Linked DNA regions of Homo sapiens: region 2 is linked to region 1. Evidence: promoter capture Hi-C in human tissues and cell types (Jung and others, 2019). All regions are on one chromosome and are shown on one strand. The core of a region is centred on a gene start or on the middle of the fragment in contact, and the rest is flanking DNA. Distances in the headings are between cores, read along the strand shown.

Region 1 (3,214 bases), core at 445-2,944:
CTGGAGATGGCCAAAAGAGTGAGCTCAGGACTACTGGATCCCATGCCCAGGTGTCCAGCAGACCTCAAGGCAGAAGGGTCACCTAACCCAGGAGTCCACAGACTGATGTGACCTCAGGTTCCCACATCAGTGGCCACAGGGCAGGGCCCACCTGGTAGAAGTGTTCTGGATATGGCCAGGGTGGGTGTGTGGCTAAGTGGGCCTGAACAGAGGGAACCTAGGGCCCTTGGCCAATGTGATTAAAGCTGCCATCTTGATGTGTGTTGTCTCTGAATTGCCAGCAGGAGGGTGGGGACAAGTGCGCTGGGTCTAGGTTTCAGTTCTGACCCTATAATCTGAGGAGGAACCATTCTCAGGAATGAATGGGAAAGTGGCAGAATGGTGCCTCCCCTTCCCTGGGTCCGCCATGGTGCCAGTGGCTGGGAGCCGGTATCCTCATATGGTGGATGGGGAGACAGTCTTGGAGAGGTAAAGTGACCTCCAAAAGCCACACAGCTTAGAACAGGCCAAGCCAGAATCCCATCCAGACTCTGGCCCCAGCGCATATGTGTGCCTCCCATAAGCTAGGAATGACACGCAGAGGGGGAGGGCTCCTGGGTCCAATGTAGGGCTGGGAGTGGGACTGGCAGGTGCCCTCACAGCCACATGAAGGCATTCTGAACCTCCCGGCTATGTTGGGACAAGCCCTCAGCACAGGGAGGCCTCTTCCCCATGCCAGGAGTTTGGCTTTGACTTCTCCGAGCTTTGGACCTGCCTGAGGAGGGCCCATGCCCATGCCCAGGACTGGGGGCACCTGAGCTGAAAGCCAAAGTACAGCCCTGGGACCACAGGTGTCCTTTCCTTCCAGTCCTTGGGACCTCTGCTGTCTGTGGGCAGGAGTCAGTGGTGGTGTCAGAGCAGGCCTGTAACTCCCCTCTTTGTCCTGAGAGTCTGCCTGGTCATGGGTGTGACCTGAGGGAAAAGGGGGAAGCTGAGCCCCAGCTCCAGCCTGCATCAAATTAACTCCATGCTTCCTGGGAGCCAAGGGACGTGTCTCTTCCAAACAGGGATCTTCTGGATAGAATTCTTGGGGTCTAGGAGATTCTGGCACCTTATAGGTAAAAAAGAAAAGAGCCCTCTGCAAATGTTGGAAGCTCCACTGGGCCCCCACAGTAACCTCGAGGACCGGCCCTCCTGCCCCTGCTACTGAATGTCTGGCAAGTGCTCTGCTTCCTGGGGCAGAGGTCAGCTCCCGCCTCTCCCTGAGCTCAAGGGAATGAGACTCAGAGCCACTGTGCCCCCCGCCCCACATGCTTAGTCACATTGGCATCTACATGGTCACACAGCCACATGTCCACACGCAGCCCAATGCTACACAGTCACTTCATTCCATGTACTTCCACAATCACGCATAGTCACCCTGAAACCTACATGCCTACAACTGCATGATGACACCCCTCCCACACCCCAACTCCAGCACCACACACCTTCGAACCCATCGTCATTCCGGGACAAGGCCAGCACCAGGTCACCCCCAAACCCAGGCATACCAAATCCTGGAGTTCCACACACAGTCAATCCCACTCTTATGCCCCCCCTTTCTTTCCCTCCCTCCCAGGGCTAGTCCAAGAGTGGAACAAAAGCCCAGCATCCCCCTCCCTGCTCGCTTCTCCCTTCCCCTCCCTTCCCCTCCCTCCTGGCGTCCAGCCCCTTTGTCCTCCCGCAGCTGAGCCCGAGCGAACAGCAAACGGGAGTCTGGGCAGAGCAGCATGAACACTGGAGCTTGGGCTGCCAGGGGTGCGGGCGGCAGGCACAAACGGGAGTGATACCTGTGAGAGCAGCAGCTGCGGAGCACTTGGGAGAGGGTATGGCCAGGTAAGTGCCAGGTGCATGGGGCAAGGCTTAGGCTGCAGGGCTGACCCGGCTGCGTGGTGTCCGCAAGTCTGAGATGGGGAGGATGCGGAGGAGGTGCTTGGGTAATGGCTTCAAGTGGATGTGGGTGTGTAAAAGAGTGATGGTGGCATGTTCGAGTCAGCTTCTATAGGCTGGGCCCTTCAATCTGCATCATGACCCCTGGCTTGAAGTGCCTAGACTCAGCCGAGAAGGGAGGATACCCATTGAGCCCTACCTGGGAATTTTTACCTTCTGTGTTCCAACTGGGTGTCGTTTGACCCCCAGACTGGGGATCCCCAGAGTGAATGCTGGATCTGATGTCACTGTGTGTCCAGAGTGCCCAGCGCAGTAGACAGTAAAATGAAAAAGTACTGACACACTTCCTAGGAGGGGACTCTTTCTCCCCCAGGGAGCTGCTTGTGCTGTGGGGCACCTTTGCAAGAAGTCCATCCTTATGCTGATGAGACCTGCCCTCTTGAGTCTCAACTCAGAGCATGGTTGTGCTTTCTGAGCCAGTGGAGGACAGACTGGTTGCAGCGTGCTGTGATGACCGGTCTCACTTCCTTCCACCGGTCCTGGCTGCTCCTTGGGACACACCCCCACCCTGGCAAGTGTGGCATGCAAACCCTGGAGCCAGGTGGATTCAGGATCCAGTCGCTCTACTTGGGCAAAAGTAGTTAACTTTCTTGCCCACCAGGGAGCTCATCTCTCATGATGCTGACCAGGGGATCCGCTGCCCTGGATGACCAGGGCATGAAAGCCAGGCTGACACTAGGCGGGATCTGACCTCCAGAGGCAGCAGAGCAGCTGGGAGCAGGAGGATGGAAGGAGAGGCAGGGCGCAGAGGGTGGACCTGAGCCCCCTAGAGTAAGCTGATGGAAAGGAGGGAGCTCCCTGTCCCTGGAGGTGTGCAAGCAGAGGTTTTGTGTTCATAATGGCCAAATCATAACCAGCATGGCCCAGCCCCTCAGTCTGCAGAGCGCCTTCACAAACACCCCTCTGCTGAGCCTCGCCGCAAACTTCTGAAGGGCGGGTGTCCTGTGTGTGCTTGTTTCCCTTATGACAAACTAAAGGGGCAGGTGTGGGCTAAAGAAACTTCTCAGCTTGTGAGGATGAAATTAAATTATGTCTATAAAAGCAACTGGCACACACAGTGTCCTCCCTTCCTCTTGAGTAAAAGCAATATAGGGAAACACCCATGTAGCTCGTACTGTGTACTAGCACTTTTCATACAGCCCATGTAATAGTCATGAAGCCACAGCCCTGTGAGGTAGGGATGATGATCCCATTTCAGATGAGATAACTGAGGCCAGGGCGGGCAGGTGAGAGGAGTGACTTGCCC
Region 2 (3,214 bases), core at 1-2,500, 130 kb after region 1:
CGCTGCTTCTGGGCTGGCCTCTTCACTCCACTGAATCTTTGGGCTCTCATCTGTAAAATGGGGTAAGACTTTCTATCTGACTCACCAGGAAGTTTGCTTTTCCTCTCTTTCTGGGATTTACATGATTTCTTCCTCTCTCCATGAGATGTGCATTGAGTGCTTCCTGCGCACCAGCCTCTGGCATAGGTGGGGATGGAGAACACAGGGAGGAACAGTGCGGGGTGGAGATGGGGGAAGGCTGTTTGGGACTTGTCTAAGGAGTTGGGGGACATCGAGTAGAAATGTCTGAAGGCTGATGGGTGGGGGTCAGAGAGGGTCTGGCTGGAGACGAGGTTTGGACTTACTGGCATCGGTGGCAGCTGAAGTGGTCAGGTGGGTGGAGTTGCCCAGGGAACTCCTTTTCATGGGCTCTGGGAAGGGGCCAAGGTCAGACTCAGCTCTGGAGTCTCCTGAGAGCTGGGCACAGAGCAGGGATGGGGAGTCAGGTGGCCAGGGCCTCCAGCGGGACTGAAATGGGGTCAGTGGGTTTGGTGCTTCTTGTGAGGGTTGAGACCTTTGCCTTTGCAGTGTGGTGTCGGGGTGTGCGGGGAAGGGTGGATCACAGAGGATGAGGAGGGAGTAAAGGTGAAGGTGCTCAGATATCAAGGAATTTGGTCAGTCAGGTTGTCATTCTTTTGCTTGTGTTTGTCATTATTCAAATTATTCCCCTGCTGACTGAAGGGCTACTGTGGGGTGCATGTTTAGTCGGTTATATGCTGTGTGCATGTTGTATATGTGGGGGTTTGTAGACAAGATGTGTGTGTGGAGTGTGATGCAGGTGTGTTACTGTTTAGTATTTGTGTATGTCTTTCTGTGCATGGTGTGTAGAGTGCGTGCACACGACCACATTCAGATCCTTGATCCATACAGCAGGCTGGTGCTGAGTCGTCTGCCTAGGCTGGAAACTGGGAAGGATTCATCAAGCTTGTGAATTTATCTTCTCTACTTAGGGTTACACCCAACAGTGTGCTGGTAACAACTGGCCCTCCAGAAAAAAAGAAGGGTGGGGGATTTTAGCATCTGCCAATTTCTGTGATGTAAATACTCTGACTTCAGATTTCACTCTACCAGTGTGAAGTCACTGAATGTGCAGTTGGGAAGAGATGAACAGTAGACACCATTGTATAGCATTTCCACCATACAGGTATAGTAGGCATAAATACCCTTGAGGGTATGATAGTAACAACAGTAAAATAATTAGTATGTAATCAGTTTTGAAAATGCATTCCTGGGCCAGGCATGGTTTCTTATGCCTGTAATTCCAGCACTCTGGGAGGCAGAAGCTGGAGGATCACTTGAGGTCAGGAGTTCAAGACCAGCCTGGCCAACATGGTGAAACTCCGTCTCTACCAAAAAAAAAAAAAATACAAAAATTAGCTGGGTGGGCGTGGTGGCACATTACCTGTAATCCCAGCTACTTGGGAGGCTGAGTCACGAGAATTGCATGAACCCAGGAGGTGGAGGTTGCAGTGAGCCGAGATCATGTCACTGCATTCCACATTCTAGCCTGGGCAACAGAGCAAGACTCTTGTCTCAAAAAAAAAAAAAAAAAAAAAAGAAAGAAAGAAAAGAAAAGAAAAGAAAATGCATTCCCTTTGCTTTTAATAGAGTTTATTTAATTGTAAGTTCACATTAGGATTTCTATTTTTCTTTTTTTTAAACTTTTTTTTTTCCTCTCTCTTTTTAAAGACAGGTTGTTGCCCAGCCTGGTCTCAAACTCCTGGGTTCAAGCGATCCTCCCACTTCAGCCTCCCAGAGTGCTGGGATTGCAGGCATGAGCCACTGCTCCAAGCAGGGTTTCTCAGCATCAGCACCATAACATTTTGGTCTGGAGATCCTTTGCGGGGGGTTTGGGGGGACTGACATGTGCATTATGCAGGCAGCATCCTTGGCCTCTACCTACTAGATGTTAGTAGCACCTCTTCCCCAAATCATGACAGCCCACAATGTCTCCAGACATTGCCAGGTGTCCCCTGGGGTGCAAATTCGCCCCCGGCTGAGAACCAACGGTACTGGCTGTGTTTAACAACTACCTCACAAAATTCTTAAAAATGTGACACTTGGCTCTTATGAGCCTGTACAAGCCAGCTCAGCACACCGTGGGCACCCCATCCAGATAAATATAAGGCAGTTTTTTTCCCCCACAACTATTTCCCTGGAAAAAGCTGGCACCTTAGGCCTTAGATTTCAGTCTGTATGGAGTCCCTGACCACAGAGAACCCTCTCGGCTTACTGACTGATCCACAGAGCAGTGGACACAGAGTCAGAGATATGCTGCCATAGTGGATCTGTTGTGACATTTTATGAAATGTGAGAATAGGAAGAAATTAATGATGTTTTTGAATTAATATCTTATTTTAACATATGTTATTCTATATCCTTAAAAGTTTGCATGTTGAAATTGGCAAAACAAACAAACCAAACAAAAACCCCCTTTAAATAAAATCTTTCCGCTGGGAAAATAATGGCCTGTCTTGTGTCAGGAGTGCCCTATAGCTAATGGGTTCCCGCCAAGACTGCGCATCCATGGTGCTCATCCAGATGGCAAGGCTGCCGCTTCTTGGCCCAGGTCCTATTTTTTCCCAGCCTCAAGCTCAGGGCTTGGCTCTTGTTTATTCATTCAAAATCTTTATTAAGCACCTACTATGTACCAAGGAACATAAGTGACTGAAGTCGCAGTTTCTGTTCCCTGGGGTTTGCCATCATTTCAGTTCCGTGGCATCCACTCAGGAGCAGCCATGTGCAGGCCCTGTTTGGATGCTCAGGGGCCAGCAGGAGAGGGAGGGAAAGATGCACATGTGTGCTGGGTGCCTGGTGGTGCCTGGAACGGAACTGGGCACATCACACATGCACCTCCTCCCACCCTCCCACTGTGCTTTTGAGGGAGGGCTTGCTTGTTCACTGAGTGTCTGCCTTCCGCTGCCCTGTAGGTGCTCTGGGGAAACAACACCGACACCGGGGCCTGTACCTTCTGCAGGTAAAAACAGCCCCAGGCCCAGAGATTTGAAAAATAAAGGGAAGAAAAGAAAGGAGGGAAATAAGAAAGACGAATGGAAGGAAGCAAAGGAGGGAGCAAGGGCAGAGGAGTCAGGGCAAGAGCACTTTAAGCCAAGGCAGTCAAGGAGGGCTTCTTGGGTGAGGTGACGCTGGGACTGTGTGAAGGATGGGAAGGGGC

What was found. Contacts are between HindIII fragments. The study calls those that stand out against the background at their distance.
Region 2: a contact is called between a fragment that was not itself captured here and the fragment with the promoter of KLHL35 in region 1, in 2 of the 25 tissues and cell types used here (H1 embryonic stem cells and pancreas).

What each region holds. Positions count from the first base shown.
Region 1 is chr11:75,431,683-75,434,896 of GRCh38, reverse strand. It overlaps KLHL35 (kelch like family member 35), which reads left to right and starts at 1,694. Exons shown (of 7, transcript NM_001039548.3): 1 at 1,694-1,854. It overlaps GDPD5 (glycerophosphodiester phosphodiesterase domain containing 5), which reads left to right. Exons shown (of 17, transcript NM_030792.8): 17 at 1-257. RefSeq lists an enhancer at 2,170-3,056. The HindIII fragment of the contact is 12,939 bases long and covers 1-3,214 here.
Region 2 is chr11:75,303,401-75,306,614 of GRCh38, reverse strand. The region is part of intron 1 of ARRB1 (arrestin beta 1); the gene reads left to right. Among named protein-coding and RNA genes, the nearest start is that of MIR326, 30 kb to the left of the region's middle. RefSeq lists an enhancer at 2,316-3,130. The HindIII fragment of the contact is 8,452 bases long and covers 1-3,214 here.